2 separate regions of the Homo sapiens genome follow, and region 2 is linked to region 1. The links are contacts of gene promoters, found by promoter capture Hi-C in human tissues and cell types (Jung and others, 2019). All regions are on one chromosome and are shown on one strand. The core of a region is centred on a gene start or on the middle of the fragment in contact, and the rest is flanking DNA. Distances in the headings are between cores, read along the strand shown.

What was found. The method cuts DNA at HindIII sites, captures the fragments that hold promoters and counts their contacts. A contact is called where the count stands out against the background at its distance.
Region 2: a fragment that was not itself captured here is called in contact with the fragment with the promoter of ZNF699 in region 1 in 1 of the 25 tissues and cell types used here (H1 embryonic stem cells).

Annotation. Positions count from the first base shown.
Region 1 is chr19:9,305,523-9,311,506 of GRCh38, reverse strand. ZNF699 (zinc finger protein 699) reads left to right here and starts at 1,669. Exons shown (of 6, transcript NM_198535.3): 1 at 1,669-2,157. RefSeq lists an enhancer at 1,570-1,689 and a silencer at 1,750-1,999. The HindIII fragment of the contact is 17,114 bases long and covers 1-5,984 here.
Region 2 is chr19:9,120,058-9,125,648 of GRCh38, reverse strand. It overlaps the pseudogene OR7G15P. Among named protein-coding and RNA genes, the nearest start is that of OR7G3, 4.1 kb to the left of the region's middle. The HindIII fragment of the contact is 3,758 bases long and covers 1,350-5,107 here.

The DNA of each region.
Region 1 (5,984 bases), core at 420-2,919:
AACCATTTTACTAAAAGTATAGATTCATTGGGGATATATAAAATTGAATATATATATTTTTGAGATGGAGTCTTTCTATTGTCGCCCAGGCTGGAGTGCAATGGCGCGATCTCAGCTCACTGCAACCTCTGCCTCCCAGGTTCAAGCGATTCTCCTTGCCTCAGCCTCCTGAGTAGCTGGGATTACAGGCACCCGCCACCATGCCCAGCTAATTTTTTGTATTTTTAGTAGAGATGGGGTTTCACCATGGTAGCCAGGCTGGTCTTGAACACCTGACCTCAGGTAATCCACCGGCCTCGGCCTCCCAAAGTGCTGGGATTACAGGCATGAGCCACTGCGCCTTGCCTAAAATTAAATATTTTATATGGATATCATATTATAAACTAAGAGGAGCAAAATTATGTTATCAACTCAATTGTTGCATAAACATTTGATAGTGTTCATAAAAAATTATTGATAAAATATCTTTATAAACCTGGTTTAAAAAGATTAACTTGATAAGAGGTGCAACCTGTTGTAAACAGCTTACTGAGGAACTTTGGTAATCATTACCGACCAAGACAAGAATGCTTAATTTCTTTCCGACTTATAGTTGAGGAAGCCCTAAACAAACAATAAGAAAAAGAAATGACTCTGGGTGTGGTGGCTTACACCTGTACCCCTAGCACTCTGGGAGGCTGAGGTGAGAGGATAGCTTGAGCTCAGGAGTTTGAGACCAGCTTCAGCAACATAGTGCGATCCCATCTCTACAAAAAAATAAAGAAAATAGCTGGGTGGGGTGGTACGCGACTGTATTCTCAGCTACTTGGGGGGCTGAGATGGGACCATCACTTGAGCTGGGGAAGTCAAGGCTGCAGTGAGCCATGGTCGCGCCACTGCACTCCAGTCTAGGCGATAGAATGAGACATTGCCTCACATAAAGAAATGAGTTATACACATTAAAACAATGAAAATATGCAGAGAAAATATTTATATTTGATGGTTCAAATAATAAACTGACAGCTATCAGAATTCAGCAAGTTTCCAGGAAAAAGGTTCTATTTAAATAATTATCAATGGCTTCCCTCTACAGGAGAAGTTATCAATACAACAATGAAAGGGAAAACTAAAAGGCCCAAAAGGACTGAGTGAGTGTCAAGGAGAGTCTGTTTCCTATTAGAGCTGCAAATATATGTGTCCTGTGTACAGGACTGTAGCAACGTGGAGGATAGGTAGAAACCCGATCGATGAGCATCCTGTATCCGTGGTAGCTGAGAACCTGGATGGGAAGCCCTAGCCTTAGCCCCATCCCTAGGCCTTGTCACTTAAGCCCCGCCCAGCCCTCGTCTCCGCCCCCTAGGAATTTCTACCAAGCCCCGCTCCCAATCTGGTTCCACCTTTAGCCCCGCCCCTTGGAGTATTTAAAAGGCCACGCCCCTAGGTCTAGCCCCAGTTCCGCCCCTCAGGCCGAGTCATGCAAGTCCAGTTCAGGGTTCTGTTTCTTCTCTGTTTACTCCAAATCATGAAGAAACTAGGATTTCTCATCCACTTGCGGCTGGAACCAGCCTTGGCGCTCCTTTGCATCCCGCTCCTACCTGCTCCACCCCCTTCACCTCAAGTCCCGCTTCCCAGGCCCCGCCCCATACGCCATTTGCAGCGCCGAAAGAGGAATCAGAAGTGTGCTTCTGCGCATGCGCGAGTCGACAGCCTTGTCACCCTACGCCTCCGCCCGCGTCTGAGGAACATTTTTGCCTCCGCCCGCTTCCTGTCCTGCCCTGCCCCGCCCCGCCCTGCCTGCCCCGGGTCGGGTCCGCGGGAGACCGAGGGCTGGGTTTGGGAATCGGCGGTCTAAGGGCTGCCTCCCCGCCACTCCTTGTCCGGACCCCGCGCCCGGGGCCTCCCGCCGCCGCGGCGCCTCCTCAGAGAGCCCGGGTCAGCTGCCCCTGTGGCCGCGGCTGGTCCCAAACTCACTGAATCGGGAACTCTGGTCTGGGTACAGAAATCGGGGTGATTCTGATGCAGGCGAGAGTTGGAGAACCAATGTCGTAGTTCATCAGCCTCCGAAAGCATCCTTTGCTCTCTTTCCAGAAAGGAAGAGCATCTCTGCCATTCGTGTCTCAAGGACAAGCGCTTCAGCCTCGTTCTCTGTGAGCTGATCTGTGGATCGCGGCGTGTCGGGTGAGCACGGGGTGACATTTGCCTCGGCTCGGTCCCCTCCTGTCCCCTCTTTATGCATTAGGTAGTGTTTGGGCCAAGCGCGGTGGTTCACGCCTGTAATCCCAGCACTTTGGGCGGCCGAGGCGGGCGGATCGCTTGAGCCCAGGAGTTTGAGGCCAGCCTGGGCAACATAGCAAGATCCCGTCTCTACCAAAAAAAAAAAAAAAAAAAAAAGTAAAATAAAAGGTGCTCTCCTGTGTTCCCAGCTACTCGGGAGGCAGAGGTTGCAGTGAGCTGAGATCGCATCACTGCACTCCAGCCTGGGCAACAGAGCGAGACACTGTCTCAAAAAAACAAAAAGATAGTATTTGGTCTCTGGATATTATATTCTGCCTGTGGACATCAGTTTGATACATTATATTCAAGTGAAAGTGAACTGATGCATTTTGTCATTAATGATGCATTTGAATCATTTGTCTATAGATTGGTTAAATTTCACACAGAAAATTTGGTCATCTGTCAGTTTCAATCTTTTCCCTTTTTATTCCTTGCAGTTTCCATTTCTTTTCATTTCTTTACTGCACTTGCCAGGACCTCCAGTACAATGTCCGACAGAATAGCATGTAATTTACATCCTGTCTTGTTTCTGATTCCAGAGGGAATTATTCTATCATTTCACCATTAAATAGGATGTTTGCTGTAGGTGTTTGTAGGTTTTTTTCCTTTCTTTATTCCTATTTCTTTTTAGAAAATAGGAGTCTCGCTCTGTTGCCCGGGCAGGTCTCGAACTCATGGGCTCTCCGCCTCCCAAAGTGCTGGAATTACAGGCATGAGCCACTGCACCCGGCCTGACCGTGTTTTAAACCGCTGATTTTTTTTTCTTTAATTACTGGGTGTAATCAGGTTTTAGATCACTGCTTGAAAGTTGTACTACTTTCTAGAAATTCATTAATTACCTGTGCATCTTCATATTTATTCCTTAAATTTTTTCTATATTCTCCTTATGATATCTGTAATTATGATTAATTCTTGTTCATTTTTTTTTTGTTGTTGTTGTTTATGCCCTGTTGCTCTTAAAATTGCTGAGTCTGTTGCTGGCTGCAGTGGCGCATATCTGTAGTCCCAGCTGGTGGGAAGCTAAGGCAGATGGATCGCTTGAGCCTAGGAAATGAGATCAACCTGGGAACATAAAGAGTCTGTCTTAAACAATAAATTAAATTAAAAAATTTTTTTAAAAAGCTGAGTTTGTCAGTTTCATTAGTTTTTCTTTTTGCAAAGGATGCTTTTTTAGCTTTTCTGATTTTGTTTACTATGTTTTAAAAAAGATTATTTTCTATTTTCTTTCTAAACTTTTATGCTGGTCTTTATTCAACTTTATATATCAATAGTCTAGCCTATTAATACCGATTTTTTTTTTTTTTTTTGAGACAGAGTCTCGCTGTGTCTCCCAGGCTGGAGTGCAGTGGCGTGATCTTGGCTCACTGCAACCTCTGCCTCCTGGGTTCAAACAATTCTCTGCCTCAGCCTCCCAAGTAGTGGCGATTACAGGCACCTGCCACCATGCCCAGCTAATTTTTTTGTATTTTTAGTAGAGGTGGGTTTCACCATCTTGGCCAGGCTGGTCTTGAACTCCTGACCTTGTGATCCACCCACCTTGGCCTCCCAAAGTGCTGGGATTACAGGTGTGAGCCACCGTGCCTGGCCAGTACTGATTTTTTTTCCTCTAGGAGTTGATAATGCTTATAAATATATAATAGATATACTAAACCCTCTGAAATTCCAGCATGATCTGAAATAGTTATTTTAATTTTCTGCTTCTACCCTGCCACATTACCTGTCCTGACTTGCTAAAGATAAATATGTTACGTGTCTCCTTATCCCTATAATGTGCTACATTTTTTATATAGCATGTATCTCTACCTGATGTATTTTGTTTAATGTCTTACCCAAAATATTATAACATTCATTTGCTTCAGGATTTTTCTTTTTTATTTTTCTATGCCTTATTCCTTGTGACTTCATGTAGTAGGGTCAGGATAAATGTCACCTAAATAAACATGAAACGAAGGAGGTAAGGGCTATAAGGGAAGCATCGTTGCCCAAGACATAGGCCTTAGGAAAAGGAGCTCAAAGATAACATATTTGATTATTTATTTATTTTATTTATTTTGAGACAGAGTCTGGCTCTGTTGCCCAGGCTGGAGTGCAGTGGTGTGATTTCGGCTTACTGCAACCTCTGCCTCCTGAGTTCACACAATTCTCCTGCCTCAGCCTCCTGAGTAGCTGGGACTACAGCTGTGCGCCACCATGCCCGGCTGATTTTTGTAGTTTTAGTAGAGACAGGGTTTCGCCATTTTGGCCAGGCTGGTCTTGAACTCCTGACCTCATGTGATTCCCCCGACCTTGGTCTCCCAAAGTGCTGGGATTACAAGCATGAGCTACCACGCACAGCATATTTGATTAGAATGCTTCATTTGTCCACTCTCTGTAGTGCCCAATAGGGTTCTAGGCTAAATCCTGGTAAAACTAGGGAATAAGGGGCTTAAAAACAATTAAAATTTAAGGTATGTGTTCAAAAATGTACTCACTGGGTGTTTGGGTTTTGAAGACAAATAGGCCTGCATTCATACCCTGCCTCAGCAGCTGTCTAATTGGGTAATATTGAAGATGTGGTTAATTGACTCATTCTAAGATAATTCTAAACTGGTTGTAATAATATTTGATTTGCAGAGCTTCTGTGAGAAATATTCTAAAATGTGGCCATTTCTTTGCAAAGTCATTCTCACATCAGGGTTGTCCAGATGGCATATATTGTTACTAATACAGCAAAGAATGTTACAGTTTTTTATTGGCTTTTTAAAATGCTACTTGTTCCACTGCAGTGGAAGTAACTGTTAACATGTCGTTGTTTGAAATTTGTGAAACAGCACTGCAGATACCACATCAGGGCTGACACAGGTCAAGTGTTTTTTTTTTTTTGAGATGGAGTCTCGCTCTGTCTCCCAGGCTGGAGTACAGTGGCGCAATCTCGGCTTGCTGCAACCTCCGCCTCCCGGGTTCAAGCGATTCTCCTGCCTCAGCCTCCTGAGTAGCTGGGATTACAGGCTTGCGCCACCACGCCTGGCTAATTTTTGTATTTTTAGTAAAGGAGGGGTTTCACCATATTGGTTAGGCTGGTTTGGAACTCCTGACCTCGTGATCCATCCACCTCGGCCTCCCAAAGTGCTGGGATTACAGGCGTGAGCCACCATGCTTGGCCAAGTATTCTTATTCTGCTACTACTGTACTGTGCAGGCAGATTTAGCATGTGTATCACAGCATAGCGGCCTTCTCTGCCTCCAGCATATGGAATTCAATAGGCTGATGCTTGGCCAGGCGCGGTGGCTCACGCCTGTAATCCCAGCACTTTGGGAGGCCGAGGCAGGCGGATCATGAAGTCAGGAGATTGACACCATCCTGGCTAACACGGTGAAACACCGTCCCTACTAAAAACACAGAAAAATTAGCCAGGCATGGTGGTGTGCACCTGTAATCCCAGCTACTGGGGAGGCTGAGGCAGGAGAATGGCATGAACCCGGGAGGTGGAGGTTGCAGTGAGCTGAGATCACACCACTGCACTCCAGCCTGGGTGACAGAGCAAGACTCCATCTCAAAAAAAAAAAATAGGCTGATGCTCTTTCTCAGGTTTTGGGGAACCCTGCAGCTCATGGGGGCAGGGGCAGTGGTCTAGGGCTGAGCAGCAAAGCCTGTTAGCCAGCCAAGGGGTGCAGAAGTAAGAAATATCGGGAGTGGAACTCCCAGAAGCCTGGCATATAAATCAGTGCTTTCTTGAATTTGAGATGGGGAGT
Region 2 (5,591 bases), core at 1,979-4,478, 190 kb after region 1:
TCTCAGCCTCCCAAAGTGCTGGGATTACAGGCATGAGCCACTGTGCCCCACCTGACCAATGTCTTTGAATACATGAGACCAGAGATCAGATGGTTCAGGGTGATAGTTTTGGAATCGGACCACGTGGACTTGAGTTCTTTTTGGATTGATTGACTGACTAATTGATTTTTGAGACAGTCTCTCACTTTGTTGCCCAGGCTGGAGTGCAGTGGTGTGATCACAGCTCACTGCTGCCTCGAATTCCTGGGCTAAAGCGATCCTCTGGACTCAGCCTGACGAGTAGCTGAGACTGCAGGTGCATGCCACCACACCTGGCTTTTTTTAAATTTTTGTATCAATGCATAAGAGATGTACATTGTTTCAGGATGCATGTGATAGTGTAATACATTTGTATAATCTGCAAGGATTTGTTACTTTAGATATCCATCACCTTAAATATTTGTCTTATCTTTATGCTCCAACCATTCCAATTGTTCTCTTCTAGGTATTTTGAAATATACAATGGATTATTTTGAACTATAGTCACCCTACTGGTCTATCCAATACTAAGTCTTTTTTTAAAAAAAATTAAATTTAATTAAAAATTTAAAAACTTATTTATTTATTTATTTATTTATTTATTTATTGAGACAGAGTCTTGCTCTGTCGCCCAGTCTAGAGTGCAGTGGCTCAATTTCGGCTTACTGCAACCTCCACCTCTGGGGCTCAAGCGATTCTCCTGCCTCAGCCTCCTGAATAGCTGGGATTACAGGCGCCTGCTACTGTGCCTGGCTCATTTTTGTATTTTTAGTAGAGACAGAGTTTCACCATGTTGGCCAGGCGGGCCTTGAACTCCTGACCTCAGGTAATCTGCCCGCCTCAGCCTCCCAAAGTGCTGGGATTACAGGCATGAGCCACCATGCCCAGCTAGCTAATTTATTTTTAATTTAAAAATTAAGTAATTTATTTACAATTTAAAAATCAAGTAATTAATTTTTAATTTTAATATTAAATGATTAATTTCTTTTTTAGAGAGAGCCTTGCTCTGTTGCCGAGGTTGAACTACAGTGGTGTGATTATAACTCACTGCAGCCTCAAACTCCTGGCCTCAAACAATCCTTCTGCCTCAGCCTTCCAAAGTGCTGGGATTAAGCAGTGTGAGCCACTGTGCCCAGGTCGCCTATACTTTAAATCATTTCTAGATTACTTATATTACCTAGCATAATGTTAATCCTATGTAAATAGTTGTATTACTTAATATTGTATTTTTGTAATATTCTTATTTAATATTTTTAAAATTTTCTTTAATATTTTTAATATTTTTGATCCACAGTTGGTTGAGTCCATGAATGTGGTACTGGCAGATATGGAAGGCTGACTGTACTTGGTATATATATTGTTAAAATTGTCAGAATCAAAATGGAGTCACTTATTAAAAAAAAAAAAGGCTGGGTGTAGCGGCTATCAAAAAAGTCTGCACTTTGATAGGCTGAAGTGGGCGGATCACAAGGTCAGGAGTTCGAGACCAGCCTGGCCAACATGGTGAAACCCCATCTCTATGAAAAATACAAAAATTAGCCAGACGTTGTGGCGCATATCTGTAATCCCAGCTACTCAGGAGGCTGAGGCATGAGAATCGCTTGAACCTGGGAGGCGGAGGTTGCAGTGAGCCAAGATCGCACCACTGCATTCCAGCCTGGGCGACAGAGCAAGACTCCATCTCATGAAAAACAAACAAACAAACAAAAATGAAAAAAACAAAAACATCCTGACAAGTAAAGCTAGGGAAGGCCATGAAGAGATTTATTTCACTTGCATGCCTAATAACAAAAACTATCACAAGACTACAAAAACTATCACGAGACGACAAAAACTATCACGAGACGACAAAAACCACAACCTTGCACAAAAGGCTGTTGCAACCTTACACAAAAAATATTTCTGCAAGTACATCTGCCCAGCAACTGCCTGTCCAGCTTCAGACTGGCATCACCCTTGTTATTAGTTATTACTGTGAAGGATAATTATTTCAAAACAATTATGTAACCTTCCTCATTTTTCCATTAAAAAACTTTGTCTTCCTTTACCTCCTTGAATGCATACATAGTTTATGATGGCACGCGTATCGCTATTGCAATGCTTTCTTTGGCAATAAACATCATTTTCTTTTAGATAGCCTCTTTCTGTTATTTAGGTTGACTATCTATAGTTATATTGATTTATGTTTGTGCTGTTGAATTTCAAAGGAATTGAAATCAATATGCTGAAGAGATATCTGCACTCTCATGTTCATTGCAGTATTAGTCACAATAGCCAGGAAATGTAATCAACCTGAATGTCCATCAACATATAAGTGGATAAAGAAAATGTGGTATGGCAGGCACGGTGGCTCACGCCTGTAATCCCAGCACTTTGGGAGCCTGAGGTAGGTAGATTACTTGAGGTCAGGAGTTCAAGACTAGCCTGGCCAACATGGTGAAACCGTGTCTCCACTAAAAATACAAAAATTAGCCAGGCATGATGACGTATGCCTGTAATCCCAGCTACTCAGGAGGCTGAGGCAGGAGAATCACTTGAACCCAGGAGGCGGAGGTTGCAGTGAGCCGAGATCGCACCACTGCACTCTAGCCTGGGCAACAGAGTGAGACTTTGTCTGGAAAAGAAAAAGAAAATGTGGTATATGATAGAGTACTATGCACCCTTTAAAAAGAAGGAAATTCTGTCATTCGCCACAACATGGAGGAACCTGGAGAACATTATGCTAAGTGAAATAAGCCAGGTACAGAAAGACAAATACTGCATGATCTCAACCATGTGTAGAATCCAAAAGAGCTGATCTCATAAAATCAGAATAAAATAATGGCTACTGCAGTCAGGCACGGTGGCTGATGCCTGTAATCCCAGCACTTTGGGAGGCCGAGGCGGGTGGATCACGAGGTTAGGAGTTCAAGACCAGCCTGCCCAACATGGTGAAACACTGTCTCTACTAAAAATACAAAAATTATCCGGGTGTGGTGACGCTTGCTTGTAGTCCCAGCTACTCAGGAGGCTGAGGCAGGAGAATCACTTGAACCTGGGAGGCGGAGGTTGCAGTGAGCCGAGATCATGCCACTGCACTCCAGCTTGGGTGACAGAGGGAGACTCCGACTCAAAAAAAAAAAAAAAAAAACAATAAAAATAAATAAATAAAAATAACTTTCTGGTCTATTTTGCAACTTGCATATTTGGTGATATTCTTCTCTCTGGGGTCATGTTTTCTTATTCTCAAATAGCCTTGTCTGTTTTGAGAATGCCGTCAGCAAGTAATAAAGCTTTTTTCAGCTGTGAGTCTCACCTCCCATTTGTTTCCCGATTCTACAGGGCGGGTTGGGGGGTGTACATTAGCTCTGCCGTTTCTGACTCTTCAAGGAGGGCTGCGGTGGCTTCAGTGATGTACACAGTGGTCACACCTATTATGAACCCCTTTATCTACAGCCTGAGGAACAGAGATATGAAGAGAGCCTCGGGGAAACTCATTGGTAGGATAACTTCTCTTCCTGATTATGTTGTCCACTTTGGACTTGGGATTCAAAGTGGGTCAAAGACACAGAAATACTGGTGAGCCAGAATGCCTGACTGATCTATCACTGAGTTTTCTAAAATGATTAGATAACATAGTGGGTAAGTACATTTTAACTTGGGGTTGAAACATCACTTGTTCTTTGTGTGTAGCTCTGTGATTGTACGAAAACGAGTTCCACGGCCGGGCGCGGTGGCTCACGTCTGTAATCCCAGCACTTTGGGAGGCCGAGGCGGGAGGATCACGAGGTCAGGAGATCGAGACCATCCTGGCTAACACGGTGAAACCCCGTCTCGAATAAGAATACAAAAAATTAGCCGGGCGTGGTGGCGGGCACCCGTAGTCCCAGCTACTTGGGAGGCTGAAGCGGGTGAATGGCGTGAACCCAGGAGGCGGAGCTTGCAGTGACCTGAGATGCCGCACTGCACTCCAGCCTGGGCGACAGAGCGAGACTCCGTCTCAAAATAAATAAATAAATAAATAAAAATTAAAAATAAATAATAAAAAAAAATTAGTTCCATTCTCCAAGCTCAGTTTTTCTCTTTTTCTTTTTCTTTTTCTTTCTTTCTTTTTTTTTTTTTTTTGAGACAGAGTCTGTTCTGTCACCCAGGCTGGAGTGCAGTGGTGCAGTCTCGGCTCACTGTAGCCTCCGCCTCCTAGGTTCAAGCAATTCTCATGCTTCAGTCTCCGGAGTAACAAGGATTACAGGCAAGCATCACCACGCCCAGCTAATTTTTTTCTATTTTTAGTAGAGACGGGGTTTCGCCATGTTGGCCAGGGTGATCTCGAACTCCTGGGATCAAGAGATTCTCCCGCCTCGGCCTCCCAACGTGCTGGGATTACAGGCCTGAGTCACCAGGCCGACCACCACCACATTTCTTATCAACCCTGGGACAACACATTCTACCCTTAACGCTACTTCATTTCCTGCTCACTTTCCACAGAGTCAGCAAACTTTCCCCAAGGTGGTATCTGAACACTTGCCTCATGACTTTTCCCTTTCTGAGTCTCTGAACATTTCAATTTTTTCTTTATTTTGGTTTTAGAGACACAATCTTGCTGTGTTGCCCAGGCTGGAGAACCAGAAATAGAAATAAAACTAATTTTTGTGACTTTCAATGTGATAAAGCAATAAGATGAGAAAACTTTTATTAATTTCTGGTTCAAAGACATATTTTAGTGTGACATAATCATAAATATTCATGTAATAGTAGTGCCAGTAACAACCAAGAAAAAAACAGAGAAAATTTATCAAAAAATAGCTACAACCAAAGGCTCACATCCAAGAAGCAACTGAAGTAGCTTACACACCTCCAGAAAAAGATTTTACTCTCTTTTAAAATGATTTCTAGAAATAACTGTTTTTTAAAAATCCTGAATAGCCAAGATAACCCTATGCAAAAGGAACAAAGCTGGAGGCATCACACTATCTGACTCCAAACTACACTACAGGGCTACAGTAATCAAAACAGCATGGTTCTTGTACAAGAACAGACAAATAGACCAATGGAACGGAATAGAGAACCCAGAAATAAGACCGCACACCTTCAACTATCTGATCTTTGACAAACCTGACAAAAACAAGCAATGGGAAAAGGATTCCCTACTCAATCAATGGTGCTGGGATAACTGGCTAGCCATATGCAGAAGATTGAAACTGTACCCCTTCCTTAAATTATATACAAAAATTAACTTAAGACAGATTAAAGACTTAAATGTAAAACCCAAAACTATAAATACCCCAGAAGACAACCTAGGTAATACCATTTAGAACATAGGCACGAGCAAAGATTTCATGATGAAGACACCAAAAGCAACTGCAACAAAAGCAAAAATTGGCAAATGGGATCTAATTAAACTAGAGAGCTTCTAAACAGCGAAAGAAACTATCATCACAGTGAACAAACAACCTACAGAATGGGAGAAAATTTTTGCAATCTATCCATCTGATGAAGGTCTAATATCCAGCATCTTTAAGGAACTTAAACCAATTTACAAGAAAAAAAAACCATTTAAAAAGTGAGCAAAGAACATGAACAGACATTTTTCAAAA